2 separate regions of the Homo sapiens genome follow, and region 1 is linked to region 2. Evidence: promoter capture Hi-C in human tissues and cell types (Jung and others, 2019). All regions are on one chromosome and are shown on one strand. The core of a region is centred on a gene start or on the middle of the fragment in contact, and the rest is flanking DNA. Distances in the headings are between cores, read along the strand shown. Region 1 overlaps MOCOS (molybdenum cofactor sulfurase). Region 2 holds the start of MOCOS (molybdenum cofactor sulfurase).

Region 1 (4,841 bases), core at 836-3,335, 46 kb before region 2:
GAAATGCAAATCAAAACCACAATGAGATACCACCTCACACCAGTTAGAATGGCAATCATTAAAAAGTCAGGAAACAACAGGTGCTGGAGAGGATGTGGAGAAATAGGAACACTTTTACACTGTTGTTGGGACTGTAAACTAGTTCAACCATTGTGGAAGTCAGTGTGGCGATTCCTCAGGATCTAGAACTAGAAATACCATTTGACCCAGCCATCCCATTACTGGGTATATACCCAAAGGACTATAAATCATGCTGCTATAAAGACACATGCACACGTATGTTTATTGCGGCATTATTCACAATAGCAAAGACTTGGAACCAACCCAAATGTCCAACAATGATAGACTGGATTAAGAAAATGTGGCACATATACACCATGGAATACTATGCAGCCATAAAAAATGATGAGTTCATGTCCTTTGTAGGGACATGGATGAAATTGGAAATCATCATTCTCAGTAAACTATCACAAGAACAAAAAACCAAACACCGCATATTCTCACTCATAGGTGGGAATTGAACAATGAGATCACATGGACACAGGAAGGGGAACATCACACTCTGGGGACTGTTGTGGGTGGGGGGAGGGGGGAGGGATAGCATTGGGAGATATACCTAATGCTAGATGATGAGTTAGTGGGTGCAGCACACCAGCATGGCACATGTATACGTATGTAACTAACCTGCACAATGTGCACATGTACCCTAAAACTTAAAGTATAATAATAAAAAAATTTAAAAAAATTGATTTTGGGGTACTGTTGAGAAGGCATGATTGGTTTTGAAATGTTAAAAGACATGAGATTTGGGAGGGGCCAGGGGCAGAATAATATGGTGTGGCTCTGTATCCCCATCCAAATCTCATCTCAAGTTGTGATCCCTAGATATCAAGGGAGGGAGGTGATTGGATCATGGGGACAGTTTCCTCCATGCTGTTTGCATGATAGTGAGTAAGTTCTTATGAGATCTGATGGTTTTATAAATGTTTGGAAGTTCCTCCTTTGCCCTTCTCTCTCTTGCCACCATGTGAAGAAGGTCCTCATTTCCCTTTGCCTTCCACCATAATTGTAAGTTTCCTGAGGCTTCCCCGGCCATTTAAAACTGTGAGTCAATTGAACCTCTTTCCTTTATAAATTACCCAGTCTCAGGTATTTCTTTATAGCAGTGTGAAAACAGGCTAACACAACAATACAAATGGACTAATGCTCATGGATGGCTAGAATCAATATTGTGAAAATGACCATGCTGTTAAAAGAAATATACAAATTCAGTGCAATTCCCATCAAAATGCCGTCATCATTATTCACAGAACTAGGAAAAAATGATCCTAAAATCCGTATGGAAACAAAAAAACAGCCCACTTAGCCAAAGCAAGACTAAGCAAAAAGAAAAATCTGAAGGCATCACATTACCCAACTTCAAACTATAATACAAGGCTACTGTTACCAAAACAGCATGGCACTGGTATTAAAGCAGGCACACAGACCAATGGAACAGAATAAAGAACCCAGAAATAAAGCCAAATACTTACAGCCAACTGATCTTCGACAAAGCAAACAAAAACAAAGTGGGGAAAGGACACCCTATTCAACAAATGGTGCTGGGATAACTGGCCAGCCACATGTAAAAACATGAAAATGGATCCTTATCTCTCACCTTATACAAAAATCAACTGAAGATGGATCAAAGACTTAAATCTAAGACATGAAACCATAAAAATCCTAGAAGGTAACATTGGAAAAACCCTTCTAGATATTGCGGTAAGCAAAGAATTCATGACCAAGAACCCAAAAGTAAATGCAACTAAAACAAAGATAAATAGATGGGACCTAATTTAAAAAGCTTCTGCACAGCAAAAGAAATACCCAGAAAAGTAAAGAGACAATCCACAAAGTGAGAGAGAATATTTGCAAACCACGCATCTGACGAAGGACTAATATCCAGAATTCTACAAGGAACTCAAACAAATCAGCAACAAAAACCAAATAATCTCATCAAAAAGTGGGCTAAGGACATGAATGGAAATTTTTCAAAAGAAGATATACAAATGGCCAACAAACATGAGAAAATGCTCATCATTACTAATTATCAGGGAAATGCAAATCAAAACCACAATGTAATACCACCTTACTCCTGCAAGAATGACCATAATTTAAAAATTGAAAAATAATCGATGCTGGCATAGATGTGGTGAAAAGGGAACACTTTACACTGCTGGTGGGAATGTAAACTAGTAAAACCACTATGGAAAACAATATGGAGTTTCCTTAAAGAACTAAAAGTAGAACCACAATTTGATCCAGCAACCCTACTACTGGGTATTTACCCAGAGGAAAAGAAGTCATTATATAAAAAAGACACTTGTGCACATATGTTTATAGCAGCACAATTCACAATTGCAAAAATATGGAACCAGCCTAAATGCTCATCAGCCAATGCGTGGATAAAGAAAATATGATGTGGGTATACAAACACACAAACACCATGGAATACTACTCAGCCATTAAAAGGAACTAAATAATGGCATTTGCAACAATCTGGATAGAGTTGGAGACCATTATTTTTAGGGAAGTAATTCAGGAATGGAAAACAAACATTGTATGTTCTCTCTTATAAGTGGAAACTAAGCTATGGGGATATAAAGACATAAGAATGACATAATGGACTCTGGAGACTTGCAGAAAAGGGTGGAGGGGAGTTGAGAGATAAAAGATTATCAACTGGGTGCAGTGTACACTGCTCGGGTGATGAGTACACCAAAATCTCAGAAATCACACCTAAAGAACTTACCCATGTACCTAAACACCACCTGTTTCCCAAAAACTATTGAAGTGATAATAATAATAATAACGAAGGAGAGGAAAATCAGTATGTTTAAGATATATCTGCATTCCCATTTTTATTGCAGCACTATTCACAGTAGCCAAGTTATGGAATCAACTTAAGTGTTCATCAATTAATGAATGGATAAAGAAAATGGTGTGTGTGTGTGTGTGTGTGTGTGTGTGTGTGTAATGGAATATTATTCAGCCATAAAAAAGAAGGAAATTATGTTATTTGCAGCAACATGGATGAGCCTGAAGGACATTATGTTAAGTAAAATAAGCCAGGCATAAAAAGACAAATACTGCATGTTCTCACTCATATGTGGGAATTTTTTAAGTTGATCTCATAGAAGTAAAGAGTAGAATAGTAGTTACCAAAAGCAGGGACGGGTAGGATAAAGAAGGGGATAGGGAGAGGTTGGTTAATGGGTACAAAATTACAGGTATATAGGAGGAATAAGGTCTAGTATTCTGTAGCACAATAGGGTGACTATGGTTAACAATAATTTATTAAATATTTCAAAATAGCTAGAAAAGAGGATTTTAAACATCCTCAACACAAAGAAATGATAAATATTTGAGGTGATGAATATGCTATATAATTACACTGATTTGATCATTACACTGATTTTATTATTACATATTGTATGCATGTATCAAAGTATCACATTGTACACCATAAATATGTACAATTACTGTATCTGTTCAAAATTAAAAAGGAATAACTGTAAATCAAAGCTCATTATTATGAAATATACAATAATTTTAAGGTCAGGCATGGTGGCTCATACCTGGAATCTCAGCAATTTCAGAGGCCGAGGCAGGTGGATCGCTTGAGCTCAGGAGTTTCAGACCAGCCTGGGCAACATGGCAAAACCCCATCTCTACTGAAAATATCAAAAATTAGCTGGATGTGGTGGCACATGCCTGTGGTCCCAGCTACTCCGGAGGCTGAGGTAGCAGGATCGCTTGAGGCTTGAGCCCAGGAGATGGAGGTTGCAGTGAGCTGAGATTGTGTCACTGCACTCCAGCCTGGGTGACACAGTGAGAACGTGTCTCAAAAAAACCAAAACAACAAAAAAAAGAATTTTAATGACACTAGAATTTGGTTGGATCAAGGAAGTGCCTGGGTCTTAGAAATCTTTTTATAACATGAAGACTTTCTTCATCATTATCAGTGCCACCAATAGTATGTGCACTGAGCAAGTTTTTTATGGAAGAGCCTGAATGGGGGCGATCACATCCAAGGCCCCAGGGACACTCTGTAAATTATTTTGAAAGATTTCTGTACTTCTGGATCATCCACATCGTGGGTCATTGTTCTCTAAGCTACCTTCAATCCTTTAGAAATAGACAGACAAGCATGAAGGCTCATTCTGTAAAGATATCAGCATAGAGTGTCAAATCTCATTAGCCTCTAGGAGTTAGCATCAAATTGGATTCCTGCATCAATCATCGTTATTGCTAAAAAACAAACAAACAAAACAAACAAACAAACAAAAAACTTACTATGTCACAGTAGAGTTGGAAAGCTAGTCTTTTTTCTATGTTATACACATCATATATATAAAGGAATGCGTAACATGCATAGGTAACAGTTCAAAATAACAATAATTAATGTATGTTAATATCCTGGGTACTTGAACTTGAACAAGAATAATTTAATAACAATGGGCTATAATCACTCTCACTGATAAAAACAGACACAAACATCACTAAAATATTAGCAAACCAAACCCAGCAATGTATTAGAAAGTCATTGCCAAGTGTACTTTTTCCTTAAGATACCAAATATATAGCTCAGTTATAGACAATCTAGTAATGTAATACATCATATTAATAGCTTATGGGAAAAAATATGATAAACAAATACAGAAAAAGCGTTCAGTAAGAAATAAATTTAGTCATGATAAAAATTTTGGCAAAATAGGAAAAGAACTACTTTAGCCTGATAAAATAAATCAATCAAAAACCTACAATAAACATCATTCTTATTTTTGAAACTTCAGAAGCAT
Region 2 (4,579 bases), core at 788-3,287:
CTCAAATTGGCAGAAAAACTTCATGAGGGGAGAGGAGGAACGAGGAAGAGGTGATGTTATTTTGGTTTGTTTTTTCCCGCCCTCTCTCTGTCTTGTTTCTAGGAGAAAAACAAGTGGACATGTTCCAAGACTCCCAGCAGTGGGAGGGGCGTCAGATTAGTGCACAAATGTCTGCTTTAACCGTAATGTAGAGGAAATACAAGGAACTTGCATTAAATAAAAGATGCCCACAACACTACCAGACATACAGTAAGTGGTAACGAGTTCTGAGGGCCAGCCTGGCTGACACATCCCAATTTTGCATTTGAGGGGAAAAGTACTGTTCTCTGAGGGACAAGAGTGAAACCAGGAGGGGACCAGAACATAGCTCTACTTTCCCAGGGTAGCATTGAGGGGAGAGGTTGGCCAATAGTGGGCGTGAGAGATCACAGCTGGAGGAGATTTAGGGGATTAAGGAGGTGCGGTGCTGATATAATTACTCAGGTAGCCTTGAAGAGTTGCTTCAAAGAATGGAGAGCCTCCCTCCCCAGCACCTGTAGGCATTCATAGTACCCCTCTATTTCTGAGTGGTAGGAAATTTCCATAATTAATAGTTGAGAGAGAGAGAGAGAGAGAGAATACGAAAGAAGGGTGAGGAGCTGTCTCCAGCAGGTGACCCTGCGAGAGGGAAGGATGAGGAGTGAATAGAGAGGTTGGCAGAAGGCACCCCCGTCTCCCTCCTGACTCTCCCTACTTAGGAAGCCAGAGGAGACACACAGGAGGAGGCCACAGTTCTCACAGCCCCCAAAGGGAAAACACAGTTACCCTCCACAACACCAGGAAGTGACCCGAAGCGCTGAAATCAGCTACCCGAGTAGTGAAACCTAAGTCATGGTTGCTGTTCTGCCCCCAGAAGGGGAGCAGTCACCAGTTGTTCATCGCGACAGAGCAGATACACTCAAACCCCGGTGCCCTGTGCCAAGACGTGCCCACTTCACCTGCACACCCTCCTTGACCATCCGGCACGCGGCCCTGGGGCTTGATGAAGCCCTGCACCCAAAGTCCCTGGCAGAGGGATGAGTCACGAACTTGGGCCCTGGCAGCAGAGGGCTGGGTCGGCCAAGGCCAGATGGAGCTTGATTTGCAATTTCATCAGCCTGTTCCGCTCTGAGGAAAGGCACGATGTGATCTTGGTGTTGTCTAATTCACAGGCTCGCCCTGTTCTTAAAGGTGAAATTGCACTGTTTGCTAATTCTTCTAGTCCCCCAGAGAACTGGAGCTCAGAGGGATTGTTCTGACGCTGTAAGAGTAAGGAAAATGAGGTTTCGAAAATCAAAGCTGAATACAGGCTATCCCAGAGGAGTCTGCAGAGCGCAGCCTCGGGAGGCCCCGGCCAAGAGGCCTTGGCCTCCCGGTCCCAACCTGGCGCGCCGTCAGAGGTGCTGTCCCAGCCCGGGCGCTGGCGGTCCACGCACCGCTCCTACCTCGGGAGGACATCCGAAGGGTCACGGCCGCTGGACATGCTGTCTTTTGCAACCCCGGCCCCAGCAGGCCCTTTACAGTGAGGGGTCTCCCGCAAGAGAGGGCAAGAACCATCCTAAGCCCCGCTCGCGGAGGGCGGGAAAAGGGGAAGACGGCTAGGTTGGTCCTGCCCACCGGAAAGTCGGAAGAGTAAGAGTAGCAAGAAGCCTTGGGGCTGCAGGTGGGACCTCAGGGAGCCGTGTCTACTAGGAGGACGCGTGGACACGTCCCTCCTGGAGTTTCGATTCAAAATGCGCCCGAATGAGGTAGCGCCGCTCTCACTAGGAGCAAAAGATCCGTCCACGTCGGTTCCAGAAACCTCGTGTCCCCCAAGCCTGCCCGCCCGCCTCACCTGCCAGGCGGCTGAACTCGCGCGCCCGCAGCTCGCGCAGGCTGCCCGGGCCGTAGCCGTAGGCTAGCCGCGGTGCGCTCGGGTCCCGGGAACCCGCGAAGGTCCACAGCTCCCGCCCTGACTCCGCCGCCGCGCCGGCCATGGCCCCGGCTAGTCCATCCAGGCCGGCCGGGCCCGGGAAGTGCGCGAAGCCGGCCCCCGGCGACTCCGCCCCCGCCACGCCTCCCAGGCCTCCAGCCTCCCAGTCTCTCGGAATCCGCAGCCTAGGTGTGGCGCCCCGACCGGACTTTCACTTCTGGCCAGCCCTTTCCCCACCTGGGCGCGGGAGCGGGTGCCAGTCTTTAAACAACCTCTCGATGGGTCCCACGAAGATGTTTCCAGACCCTTGGAATGCCAAGTTCAAGTTTAGCTATGTCTCGCGGAGAGGCCGGTGGAAGAAGCAACGAGGTGATCTTTCCTGCTTGGCATCGGCATCCTGGAACCCCGCGACCCTCCTCCTCGCAGGGGTCTCGGGACCCTCACCCTCTCAAGCGGGAACCGGCGTCTGGCGGGGGCGGGGGTGGGGGCGTTCTCGGGTTGCTGCTACCCAGCGGGGCGTGTGCTTGCCGTTTGTTAGAATGCGGCTGACCAAAGGGTAGAAAAGGGGAAAGATTAGGGATCCACGAGGCTAATAAATTCTCAGTGGCTGCACACTTTCGGAACCGGGAAGCTCGGGGGCTTCCCCCGGAGCGGGCCCTGCAGCTGGGATCCAAGTGAGCTGAGCTTCCCCGCCCTCCCAACCGCGTCCTGGGCCCTACTTCCTGCCCTTGCCTCCCCAACCCTGCATCCCGCCCCGCACTTCCCGCACGTGGGTGTGGCCGGGCCCTCTCTATTAAAGCAAGAGTGCCCTAGGACAAAGCCGCCCCTGTCCCGGACAGAGTGGAATAAGAGCGCCTCCTTCAATCCCCACTCGCGCCTGCACCCAGAGCACCTGGGACACAGCGGCTCTGTCTTGGAGAACAGGTGCCTCAATAGGGAGGGCCTGGCCAAACCTATGCGCGGGAAGTGCGGAGCGGGATGCAGGGGTGGGGCGGCAGGTGCAGGTAGTAGAGCCCAGGCATGCGGTTGGGGGGTGGGGGGAAATCTCACGTGCGATCCCAGGTGCGGAACCCGCTGCTGGGAATGGGGTGGAAGCAAAACAGGTACTGCACGCACAGGCGAGGTGCCTCGTGGGGGAATCGAATGTCAGGGATGGTGGACAGTGCGGATGGGCGGCAGGTGCTGGGGCTCAGGGGAGATAACTCAGAGGCAGGCTCGGTGGAGAACCCAAGGCCGGCGACCAGGTGCAGGCGGCCCACAGGCCCTGGAGGCATACAGCGGGGGGACAAGGTGGGAAGGAGGCCTATGCCCCAAGAGCTCAACCTGTGCTGCATCCAGGCCAGCTGCCACCCAGGGTATGGGCCGCAGATGCCCTAGGATCCTTGCTGATGCATGATGCATACCGGTGCCCAGCGTGAGAGCCATGGGAAGGCAGCACGCAGCCCTGGCTCTCCCGCCCAGGCCCCTGATACCAGGCCAGAGAAAGACCCGCCACTAAGAGCTCATTTCCCCCTGGCCGGAGACCCAGGGGTCTGTGGACTGCAGCGCTAGGGTCCATGCCCAGGTACCCATATTCCTCAGTGGCCTCTGCCCACTGACCACCCCCGCTCTCTCCCTCACTGCTGAATGTCCAGGACCTTACTCGACAAACACCCATAGTTGTTCGAGGAGGAGTTAATGTACTGATGGATGGATGCAGGCATTTGCTCATTGACATCACTGCCCACCCCACCATCTGCTTGCCTTCTGGCCATGCTTCAAGCAGGCACTTTGGATACTGGACTGTCTTCTGTGAATGTGGCTTTGGGCAGCACTAATAACAAGAGCTAGTTACAGGGCCTCACTGTGTGCCAGGCACTGCACTGTGTACACTCTTACCTGTCCTGGTCGTTCAATGATTAAATATGCAGATCTAGGAGGTGGCTCTTACAGATGGGGAAGCTGAGGCAGAGAGAGGCAGAATAACTTGCACACGGGCACACAGCTAGAAGACAAGCTAGCACCTGGGAAGTCAGTCTCCAGAGCCCAGGCAGGGAAGTGTGTTTTGCTAACTCTCTGGTGTGAGCCACCGTGGTTCCCAGGGCCTCAGTTTCCCCATCTAAGTTGAGAGGGGTGAGTTGGTCCTCCCAGCAGCTGTTCAGTGTGTCACTCCTCACCCATCCTTTTAAAGCCCTGCTTCCTGGTGAGAGTCTCCCCTAGGCCAGGGTTTCCAGGCATTCATTTGCATGAATCCCCTAGAGAGCCTATTCAAAGGCAGGTTCTGACTCTTTGAGGTTCTGTGTTTCTAAGTAGCCCAGGTGATGCTGATGCCCCATTCACGAATGGCACTCTGAGGAGGGAGGGCCTAGGTCATTTCCCTGGAAATGTAAGGAGAACCTCTCCTCAAGGAGTTCTACAGCCAACTAACAAACCACCAGTCCACAGGGGTGCTGCTTCAGACAAGCTCGCCTAGTGATGGATTGGAATAGGCCAAGTCAGTGCAGAACTCCTGAAGGTTATTAAAAATCACGGATCTACCATTAATCCAGAAATACTTTAAAGCAGTTGGCTATGCCCATCTAGGGCACTGTGTGCTTGGGAGGGTGGATGTGAAGATAGCACCTACAGCTGAGTAGGAAAATGAACCTACACTAGCCACAAGGCAATGTG

The links. Contacts are between HindIII fragments. The study calls those that stand out against the background at their distance.
Region 1: a fragment that was not itself captured here is called in contact with the fragment with the promoter of MOCOS in region 2 in 1 of the 25 tissues and cell types used here (heart left ventricle).

What each region holds. Positions count from the first base shown.
Region 1 is chr18:36,231,029-36,235,869 of GRCh38, reverse strand. The region is part of intron 9 of MOCOS (molybdenum cofactor sulfurase); the gene reads right to left. Among named protein-coding and RNA genes, the nearest start is that of MOCOS, 46 kb to the right of the region's middle. The HindIII fragment of the contact is 3,959 bases long and covers 106-4,064 here.
Region 2 is chr18:36,184,955-36,189,533 of GRCh38, reverse strand. It overlaps MOCOS (molybdenum cofactor sulfurase), which reads right to left and starts at 2,037. Exons shown (of 15, transcript NM_017947.4): 1 at 1,853-2,037. The coding sequence starts at 1,994. It overlaps COSMOC (cell fate and sterol metabolism associated divergent transcript of MOCOS), which reads left to right and starts at 2,099. Exons shown (of 2, transcript NR_134605.1): 1 at 2,099-2,299. RefSeq lists silencers at 1,935-2,124, 1,970-2,233 and an enhancer at 2,993-3,815. The HindIII fragment of the contact is 25,317 bases long and covers 1-4,579 here.